Regions from separate parts of the Homo sapiens genome. Here region 2 is linked to region 1. Evidence: promoter capture Hi-C in 16 types of primary human blood cells and fetal thymus (Javierre and others, 2016). All regions are on one chromosome and are shown on one strand. Each heading gives the region's core, a stretch centred on a gene start or on the middle of the fragment in contact. The rest is flanking DNA. Distances are from core to core; before and after follow the strand shown. Region 1 holds the start of FAM9C (family with sequence similarity 9 member C). Region 2 has its middle 54 kb from the start of FAM9C.

Region 1 (4,877 bases), core at 486-2,985:
TTTCATAAACCACAAATAGCTCGTAAAACATACCTGCAATATCTTCTAGCTCCTTGGTATCAACCCTGTAACAAAAAGTTGCAACACAATTTTAACATAATGCTACACAAAAGGCCTTGTTTGTTGGGAAGAAATGTCTTGTGTGAAATGTTCTGCATAGAACATAACAGTGATGACATGATCCAAAGCTGACTTTTCCTAAAAGACCTTATCTGACAGGCAAAAGGGACTTAAACACTTTACCCCGTGTGTTCATCTGTTTCAGCAAAAGATCCTCTTTCCCCATGCTCATCAGTTACATCTCCCTCCTTTGTCTCTGTAACAGGTTTTCTTTCCTCATGCTCATGACTTACTGGATCCTTTCCTGCATTAAAATAAAAAAGACAAACCTTTTTTAGAGGAAGACGCTGTTGTGGACATTTTTCATAGAGAAACGTACTATTTGTAGACTTTTTTGGCTCTCCGCCAATTAAAGCTTTACCGCAGAGCTATACATGGAATCGCCGGCTCCTAACCATTTTACGGAGGCATTTTTGGAAGCCCTTCGGGTTCAAGTCCCAGTAAACAACGTTCACAGGTCAGATCCCTTGGATGTCAGGACCGCATCCATGGAGAAGAGCTGCTCTGAGAGCATCTGTAACCCTGCTATGAGGGGGAGCCTCCCACGGGAAGCCTAAGGCCCTTGAGCCTGCTTTGAAAACCTGGGGCATCTCAGCACATGCACGGTGAGCTCCAAAGCCACGAAGGGGCCGGGGGCCTCGGGCTGCCCATGTGCGCCCCGCCCAGAAAGCAGACAGACTGTTGGGCGTGCACCTTCTTCTAGGTCCCCTTGGGCTGTGTTTACCTGCAAGCTCCATTTCCTGGGCGGCCATAACTTGAACCTCCAACTGGTCCTTGGCAGCCATCCTGCTGCCCTTCCTGCCCACGGGCTCCGTGGCTGACTGGCCTGGGAAGCTAGAGGCGACCTCTGAACCTGGTGAGTGCAAAGACACACTAAGGACACTAAGGAAACGAGGCGTGTTAAATGAAAATCATCAGGATCGCAGGTTCAAGGGCGCCCCGGGTCTCCCGTGGGAGCAGGAGGGGACGCGGAGAAGATGCCATCATCCCCTCCTGTCCTGGCCCGTCCAGCGCTTCCCCGGGGCTGGCTGCAGAGCTCGCAGAATTCCGCGGCCTCTGCGGGATTCTTGCAGTGCCCTTGGGACAGAGCCTGGCCCTGCCCCTGGGTTCCCCAGCGACCCAGTGGAGTCGGGAGGGCCGCGGGGTGACACAGGATCTCCCCAGCCATCTCCATGGGAATGAGCCGGTACGCACCTGTTTCTGACAGGGGCAGGGACTGCCCATTCGCCAGCCTGGACGCCCAGGGGACCCCTGGTGACCCCAAGTATCCCGTCCTGATGGGCAGCCAGACAAGACGGACCCACGTTGACCCCCCGACCCCCCCCCAAACGCTGCACACATGCACAGGCCTCCGGGACCCTCCTGGGTCCTGGGGACCACTCAGGCAGCTCCAACTCCCTGCCCTGACCCAGGCCCCAGGCGACAATGCCTGGGCCATTTCCTCACAGATCAGCCTGGCTGCCCCGCCCTTCACACCCTCTTCCCCAAAGGGCCTCTGGCCCGCCTTCCCCGCATCCCCACCGAGGGCGTCTCACCTGAGGGAGCCCTGATGTTGCTCCCTCAGAGGACCTGCAGAGGCTGGCACCGCGAAGCTCCTCCGAGGGCCTGGGTCCTCTGTTCTCACGAGAGCAGCAGCCGCCCCGGCTGCCCGCGCTCCTCGCTGATTGGTCGGCCCAGTGCGCATGCAGGTGGCGGGCGGCATGGGGCCACGCCCCCTGCAGGCACACCCTCCCCCTCACGGACTGTCCATGGCTGCTGTGGACTCATTGGGTGGCTCTCTGAGGCCTCTGTCCCCACGATATTCCAGCTCCTCATCCTGGTGAAGGAAGCAAGGACTCGGGAGTGGTGAGTGCCAGGGGACCCTGCCCTAAGGAATGGAGGCCAAGTGAACGGGGCCTAGGACCTTGCCCCCAGGCTCGTTCCAGCCACTCCTGCCCCTTTGGGTGGAATGGCCATCACCCTGCGGGTGGAGCCCAGGCTCCCTCCCATGTCCTGTGTGCTTCCAACACGCCCAGCTGCATCCTTTTTATCAATGGATTGTGCTTTTATGTTTTATCTAAGAAAATTGTTGACTCCCAGCAGGGGCAGGTAGTTTTCTCCTATCCTACTCCATTCCCTCACACTGGGCATTGCATGATTCTGCAGTGGATATACAAAGTTAAAGACTTTATGTCTAGATTTCTCATGATGTGGTCATTTCTTTTCTTTCATTTTTCTTTTTTCTTTTTTTTTTTTTTTTTGACAGGGTCTTGCTCTGTCACCCAGGCTGGGCTGCAATGGTGTAATCACTACTCACTGTAGCCTCAACTGCCCGCGCTCAAGGGATCCTCCCACCACAGCCTCCCAAGTAGCTGGGACTACAGGCATGTCCCACCATGCCCAGCTAATTTTATTTTATTTATTTATTTATTTTTAGAGACAGAGTCTTACTCTGTCCCCAGGCTGGAGTGCAGTGGCACGATCTCGGCTTCCTGCAACCTCTGCCTCCCTGGTTCAAGCAATTCTCCTGCCTCAGCCTCCCAAGTAGCTGGGACTATAGGCGCACGCCGCCACGCCTGGCTGATTTTTTTTTTTTTTTTTTTGTATTTTAGTAGAGACAGGGTTTCACCGTGTTGCCCAGGCTGGTCTCGAACTCCTGAGCTCAGTCAGTCTGCCCGCCTCAGCCTCCCAAAGTGCTAGGATTACAGGCATGAACCACCGCTCCTGGCCAATTTTGTTTATTTTTTGCAGAGATGAGGTCTCACTATGTTGCCCAGGCTGGTCTGCAACTCCTGGGCTCAAGCGATCCGCCCGCCTCAGCCTCCTAAAGTGCTGGGGTTACAGGCTTGAGCCATCGTGCCCAGCCCGATTATTTCCACAGCTGGGTTGGAAGCCATCTTTCCCTGACAAGGCAGCTCACCTTTATATCTAAGAGTTCTCTATAACCTAAAGAGAATCCCTAATTACTGACACTAAATACCACCAGCTGTCCCCATTTCCCCACAATCTACTTGGTACCCAAATTAGCCAATGAGACATCTTGGGGAATTTTAAGCCATGATTGCTTCAGGTTTCTCTCTCTTTCGAGCTTAAGATGTGTAACATTAAGAAAGAAGACAAATCTTGCAGAGGGCTTTGTGCAACCAGTCTTACAGCTTTCTATCCCATCTGGATCAATGTAATTTTCATATGCTTCATCAAAGATTTCAGCTGAAAGTACTATACCAGGTTCTGTCTATAATTGGAAACACATACACACATACACCAACTACTGGTATTCAGCTAAGAATTCAATGCTGGCTCATTTTTCTTTAAAAGAATGTCAAATCAAGGAACAATTCTCCATCACAAAGTGGAATTTGATGTCAGGTGAAGACAAATGGGGATTACAGAGCTACTTCTTTGGCATAACAGCCTAGAAACAAACTGAAAAGGATTCTGCAATTTTAAATAGGCACAAAGACATTCTTTTCAGAACACCAAGTGTCCAAGTTACAAAACCCTGAAGAAATTCTTTTAAACTTTGGATGGAGCAATTTATCTCTTTTTCCCAACTGGAGTATTTGTGAGATGTCTCCCAGAAAGAAACAACTCAATACACAAATCATTAAGCCTTTGTAAAGGGAGGAAGTCTATTTGAAGCAACTCTGGGTTGCGGAAACAGGTTTTGTGAACTAACCAAAGCCTTTAGGGCAAACATGGTCACTTCAATTTTTTTTTTTTCCCACTAGAGGTTATCTACAAAGACCACAGGAAATGTTTAAGCAAATTTAAAGGAGATTTCTCAAGAGTTATTAGAATAAGTACTTTAATTTAGAGAATTGGTTTCTAATAACTGGAGGTGTAACCCCCTCCTACCCCCAACACCCTACTCCACCCTATGTGAATTGACTGACAAGTAAGGATAATGCTTCATAACAAATGTAGAAATAACACCAATTTTCAAAGCAGCCCTCACTCTTCTATTGCTGTCATTAAGAACTAACTGAAAGAAATGCACTGCTTGGATTCATAGACAGACAGAGGGACAAACAGATGGCTAGATATGTGATAAGCAACAACAGTATGGCCAGATGTCAATGATAGAATCTAGGTGATGGGAACATGAATGTTTTCCATGAAATTCTTTCAACTTTTCTGTGTATTTGAAATTTCTAATAATAAAATGTTGGAAAACAACATGTATGCTGTGCATACATGTAGAGACATAGGCTCAGACCCTCTCATCAAATGGCAACAACAATTGTTCATTTTGAAAACATCTAGAAATCTAAGATGTGATCACTGGGTTAAAGACTGTATACATCCATACTCTGTAGCCTGAATTAGTGATTTACGCTCTAATAGCCAATCAAATTGCTCATTTATCAGACAGGGCTGGTAGCACAGGAGATGGAAGTTTCTCTGCTGATAATCCTCCAGACGTTTGAGGGCTTCATGTTCATTCACATTTCAGCCTTTTCTCCAATTCTTAGACTCTTAGCAAAAGTTTATACTCGAATGAAGCAGCAAATTCTAGGCTCCAGCTGTTTAAGAATGAATGAAAACATTCATGTCTTTCAGAAAGGCTTATCTGATGTACTCTGCACAAATACCCTCACCTATGATCTTCTCTGTGCAAACTCTATCAGGGCCCTTCTCAGTGGGCTTTTCAAGACTCTCTCCAATTAGATTATAATTCCTTCAAGGGCAGGTCTTTGTCAACTTTGCTTCTCCAGCACTCAGCGCCATGGCTGGCACATGGTGGGCCGTCAGCAAATGCTGTGTTTGCTATACGT
Region 2 (5,128 bases), core at 93-2,592, 53 kb after region 1:
CACAGGATTGCTTAGGGAGAAATGACCATGGACTGGCAGAGGCTTCCTTATTAGGAAGTCAATGTATCTGCCACTGAAACCCCACATCATGGACCTCGGAAGCCTCCATCATGGTGGGGGATTTGGTTCTCTGCTCCGCATATTTTTTTTTTTTTTTTTTTTTTTTTTTGAGATGGAGTTTCACTCTGTCACCCAGGCTGGAGTGCAGTGGCGTGATCTCGGCTCACTGTATCCTCCACCTCCTGGGTTTAAGCAATTCTCTGCCTCAGCCTCCCGAGTAGCTGAGATTACAGGCGTCCACCACCACACCAGGCTATTTTTTTTTTTTGTATTTTTAGTAGAGATGGGGTTTCAGCATCTTGGCCAGGCTGATCTTGAACTCCTGACCTCATGATCTACCCGCCTTGGCCTCCCAAAGTACTGGGATTACAGGCATGAGCCACCACGCCCGGCCTCCTCTGTATATTTTTTATGGAATCACTTCTTTCTTATTTTAGTTCCACTAGCACAAGTAAGTTTTGATTTGGGAAATGGTGAACATATTACTGCACATGTTTTGTGGGCCCACAGACTCTATCATAGACTTTTTGTTGTTGTTGTTGTTGTTAATGTCCGATTTAATGATATAAAATTTACCTACAGTATAATTTAACCCTTTTATGAATACAATTCTATGAGTTTTGTAAAACAAATGTAGAGATGTAACTACCACCACAACTAAGATATTGAGTATATCACCCCACAAAGTTCCACTTTGCTTCTTTGAAGTCAGTCTCCTCCCACCAATCCCCAGTTCCTGGAAACTACTGATCTGTTTTGTGTACCTATAGCTTTGTTTTTTCCAGAATGTTGTATTAATGGAACCATATAAAATGTGGCCTTTTGTCTCTCACTGTTTTCACTCAGCATGACGCTTCTGAGATTCATTTATGTTGTGCATATCAGTACTTGTTTCTTTTTATATCTGAGCAGTATTCCATTACATGGATATACCAAAGTTTGTTTATACATTTACCTATTAATAGAGCATTTGGATTGTTTCTAGTTTGGGGCAATTATGAACAGTGCTGCTATGAACTTTCTCTTAGAAGTACTTGCGTAGACAAGCATTTCCATTCTATTAGTAAATTACCTAGGAGTAGAAATGCTGAGTTGTATGCTGTGTTAAAAGAAACTCCCATACAGTTTTCCAAAGTGGCAGTATCATTTTGCATTTCCACTAGTATTTGATAAGATTTCCAATTGCTTTGCATCCTTGGCAGTATTGTCAGTTTTTTTTTTTGTTTTTTTGTTTTTTGTTTTTTTTTTTATTATAAGCCAGGCATAGCCCCAGTTACTTGGGAGGCTGAGGCAGGAGGCTCGCTTGAACCCAGGAGTTTGAGGTTGCAGTGAGCTAGGATCACTCCACTGTACTCCAGCATGGGCAACAGAGTGAAACCCCATATCTAGAAAATATTTAAAAATAGTTAAGTAAAAACTGTAGACATTCTCTTGGGTTTTCAGTGGCATTGCATTGTGCTTTTAGTTTGCATTGCCCTAATGACTAATTATATTGAACATTGCCCTAATGACTAATGATATTGAACATTCATGAGCTTCATGAGTGTATTTGCCATCTGTTTCTCGTGTGTAATCAAATCTTTTGATCATTTTTTAATTGAGTTGTTTGTTTTGTTTGATTATTGGAATGTGACAGTTCTTTAGATATTTCTCGATATGAGTTTTTAAAATCAGATACATGATTTGCAAATATTTTATCCAAACTCTTGACTAGCTTTTTTATTCTCTTACCAGTGTCCTATTATACACTCTCATTTGCAGTGAATTGGGGTTGTTTCTTGCCTTCACCCCTGTCATCTTGGACAGCAGGGTAAGGAGATAGGTGGTGCCATTGGCTTCTGGTCCAATGCATAACACTCTGGCTTAAGGTCTATTATGGGTTGAATGTTTTGTGTTTACCCCTAATTTACATGATGAAATCCTAACCCCCCAATGAGATGGTATTAAGAGATGGGGCCTTTAGGACATAATTAGGTCATGAGAGCTTGTTCTTGCTCTCTGCTCTCCATTATGTGAGGATACAATGAGAAGATAGACATCTGCAAACCAAGAGGTGGGCCCCCACCAGACACTGGATTTGCCAGCACCTTGATCTTGGACTTCCCAGCCTCCAGAACCATGAGAAATAAATGTTTACTGTTCAAGCCACCCAGTCTCTGGTACTTTGTTATAGCAGCTCATGCTGACTAAGACAAGGTCAGTCTCCAGAGAGAAGAATATTGACCTAAACATTGGATTCTTCACTTCTCTAACTGCAGAGTACATAGAATAATTGGGAAAGTTTGATTAGTATGCAGATTTCCAAGCTCCACTTCCAGAAATGTTTATTCAGTACCTGTGAAGTGAGACCTAGATTGTTGCGATATTTAATAAGCAGCCAGATTATCCTGATATAGGTGGCTCTGGGATGAGACTTTGAGAAATCCTGAATATCTAAAGCCACTCATGATGCTTCATGTCTGGTGTGGTAAAGATGCGAAGTCTATGTCCAGGCCTAAACAAGATGGTGAGGTGTAAGTCAGAGCAGGGGATGTTGCCACACAATTAGACAAAAAGAGAAGAATCACCAAGAATGCAGGGATTTTAGGGCATTTATACTGAACATTCAGCCTGTTCCCTCATCCATCACTCTGCTATCATAGGCATGTCGTAATAAAAGTGGCTTTCATGTGTGATATTTTATTTGAATATAAACTGGAGGGGAAAGGTTGTTGACAAATAAATAAATTTTGGCACACTAAAAAATATCAATCAGGCTGCTGTGGAGGTTCATGCCTATAATCCCAGAACTTTGGGAGGCCAAGGTGGGAGGATCACTTGAGGCCAAAAGTTCAAGACCAGCCTGGGTAACATAGCAAGACCTCATCTCTATTTAAAAAAAAAAAAAATCAATTCTTAACCTTGATCCTGAATAAGAATATTGTCTCCTTATGTCATACATTACTGGGCTGCCAGCTATGGTGCTGTGATGGATTCTGGTTCATATTTTTAGGTCCACTGTTCTTACAGGAAGTCATCATGACCTTTTTCAACAGGGATGTGTGGAAGCTCTTTGGTCTTACAGTAATACTTTTCTAGACAAAAGTAGAACTTGTCCTGCTTATTTTCAAAAAAATTCATGAAGGATATTGGAGTATGAATCATTATTGTGTTTTAGAGAAAAGGAAACACAGACAGTAGCAACAAAACACCCAACTTCTATGTAAGGGCAAAGGGAATTTTTCCCTTCCCCTCTGAAGGTTTGAGTCTGCTGAAATAAACTGATAAAGAGGAGAAAGGGCATACAAGTTTATTAATGTGTAAGTGTGTATGGGAGCCATACAAAATATGATACTAAAAGAAGGGCCAGATGGGTGAAGCTTAAATAGCACATTCTTCACAGAAGGGAGAGAAATAGAGGAATGTAGGCAATTTTGAGGTGTAATGAATGATTTTCAGGGGAAATGAATAAGCCCATAGAAGAGACAATAGCCTGGGACAAAATTTCTCTGAGCTCTGGAGAGGTGGCTGACAAATTTCAAGAAAGTGAGGGGTAGAACTTCACTATGAACAAAGGTTGTCTTATTATGTAAGTAAAATCTTCCAGGTAATCTCTTGGACCTTGCCTCAGAAGAATAGAAGTCTGCCTGGGCATGGAGGTGACTTTTAGTCTTTTCTCCTCTTTGGTGGCCAATCTTTCCTGGTTATTTGATGAGATTCATAGATAAGGGGTTTTAAGAAAATTGAATCTCTTTTCCAAGAAGTTTTCTTCCCACAGATAAAGGAACTCCCAGAGAGAGCCCCTTCATGCACTTTAGGGGTAGAAACAAGGGAAGGTTACAAAGTCCTTGGTTCTAAAGGCAGCTTTTAAGGACTTCCAATTTCCTTCACTTCAAAAGTGCTCAGCATGCCACAGCTGATACTTTGGGGTATCATTCTCTGAGCCCCAACCTCTATAAAATCCAGGCATCCAGATATTTGGACTATGTAATACCAAACAAACCAGTTGATCTGTTTTTCCTGAATTGGACAAACTATTCTGACATTGCATAAGTACAACCAGCATGATTTAAGTTTTATTTGCAGACAGAAACCAATTGGGACTGACCTGATTTTCTATGTTAATTAATCAAATATTGTTGTTCAAACATTTTGGTACCTCTCAGCTAAAAGAATTTAAAAGTCCTGTTACTTTAATCCTGTTGTGGAATGTTTTTTAAAACTTATAGCTAATTAACAATCTTCATGGGCAACTAGAGCACCTCAGGCTCTGGTAAACATAAGGGATCAATGGTTATTAATCAAAGGTGGTGTAGTTGGAAGAAGCCTGGAGTAGGAGGCAAGAGACCTAGGTTCTACTGCTTGCTTGAGCTGAACTGTGCTTCCTTAAGCTTCCATGAGAGTAGATACCTTCTAGCAAAAAAAAAAATAAGAGAGAGAGAGAGAGACTAGATACTTAAGGAAACATACATTTGTAAAAAGACTAAAACCAAAGTGATTAACTACTGTCTAAATATAATTCATTCCCAAAACAGGCAAGCAAACAAACAACAAAACAATCCTAACAATGTAGGTGTTTATGTACCTCCCATATAAAAAGGATCTGAAACCCTGAAGCCACAGGATTCAACCAGGCAAGTAGAGAATTATTTTCTTTATTTTAAAACAATACTAAAGTCATGCATAATTAATGCTGAAAAATTAGAAAATAAGGAAAAAGAAACTAATCAATGAATAAAATCAATTAAAACTCTACCACCCAGTAAAAACCACTGCTAGCATATCAGTGCTATATTCGTCCATAGATCCATATACATACATGATGCATGTATATTTCAAATGGGATCATGTTGTAGCCACTGTCCTGAAATCCTGAAATCTGCTTCTTTGAGCTAATGCCGTATTGTGAAGCAGCTTGCGTGCTAATAAATATGCATCTTCATCACCCATTGTAATGACTACATTATATTCCATTGTAGGCTTGAAAATATTAACAACTAACAAACCTAGTGCTTCCTCTGTGCCCAGCACTTTTCTAAGCACTGTAACAGCATGCCTGTGAGGTAGGTAGTATGATTACTCCTGTTTT

What was found. Contacts are between HindIII fragments. The CHiCAGO score rates a contact against its expected background, and 5 or more counts as called.
Region 2: a contact is called between a fragment that was not itself captured here and the fragment with the promoter of FAM9C in region 1, in 1 of 17 cell types (non-activated CD4 T cells). The highest score is 5.0, in non-activated CD4 T cells.

The regions. Positions count from the first base shown.
Region 1 is chrX:13,042,885-13,047,761 of GRCh38, forward strand. It overlaps FAM9C (family with sequence similarity 9 member C), which reads right to left and starts at 1,736. Exons shown (of 8, transcript NM_174901.6): 1 at 1,656-1,736; 2 at 845-973; 3 at 244-364; 4 at 34-65. The coding sequence starts at 905. LOC105373133 (a long non-coding RNA gene) reads left to right here and starts at 1,849. Exons shown (of 4, transcript NR_171577.1): 1 at 1,849-1,965. The HindIII fragment of the contact is 8,868 bases long and covers 474-4,877 here.
Region 2 is chrX:13,096,135-13,101,262 of GRCh38, forward strand. No RefSeq gene overlaps it. Among named protein-coding and RNA genes, the nearest start is that of FAM9C, 54 kb to the left of the region's middle. The HindIII fragment of the contact is 4,149 bases long and covers 1-3,417 here.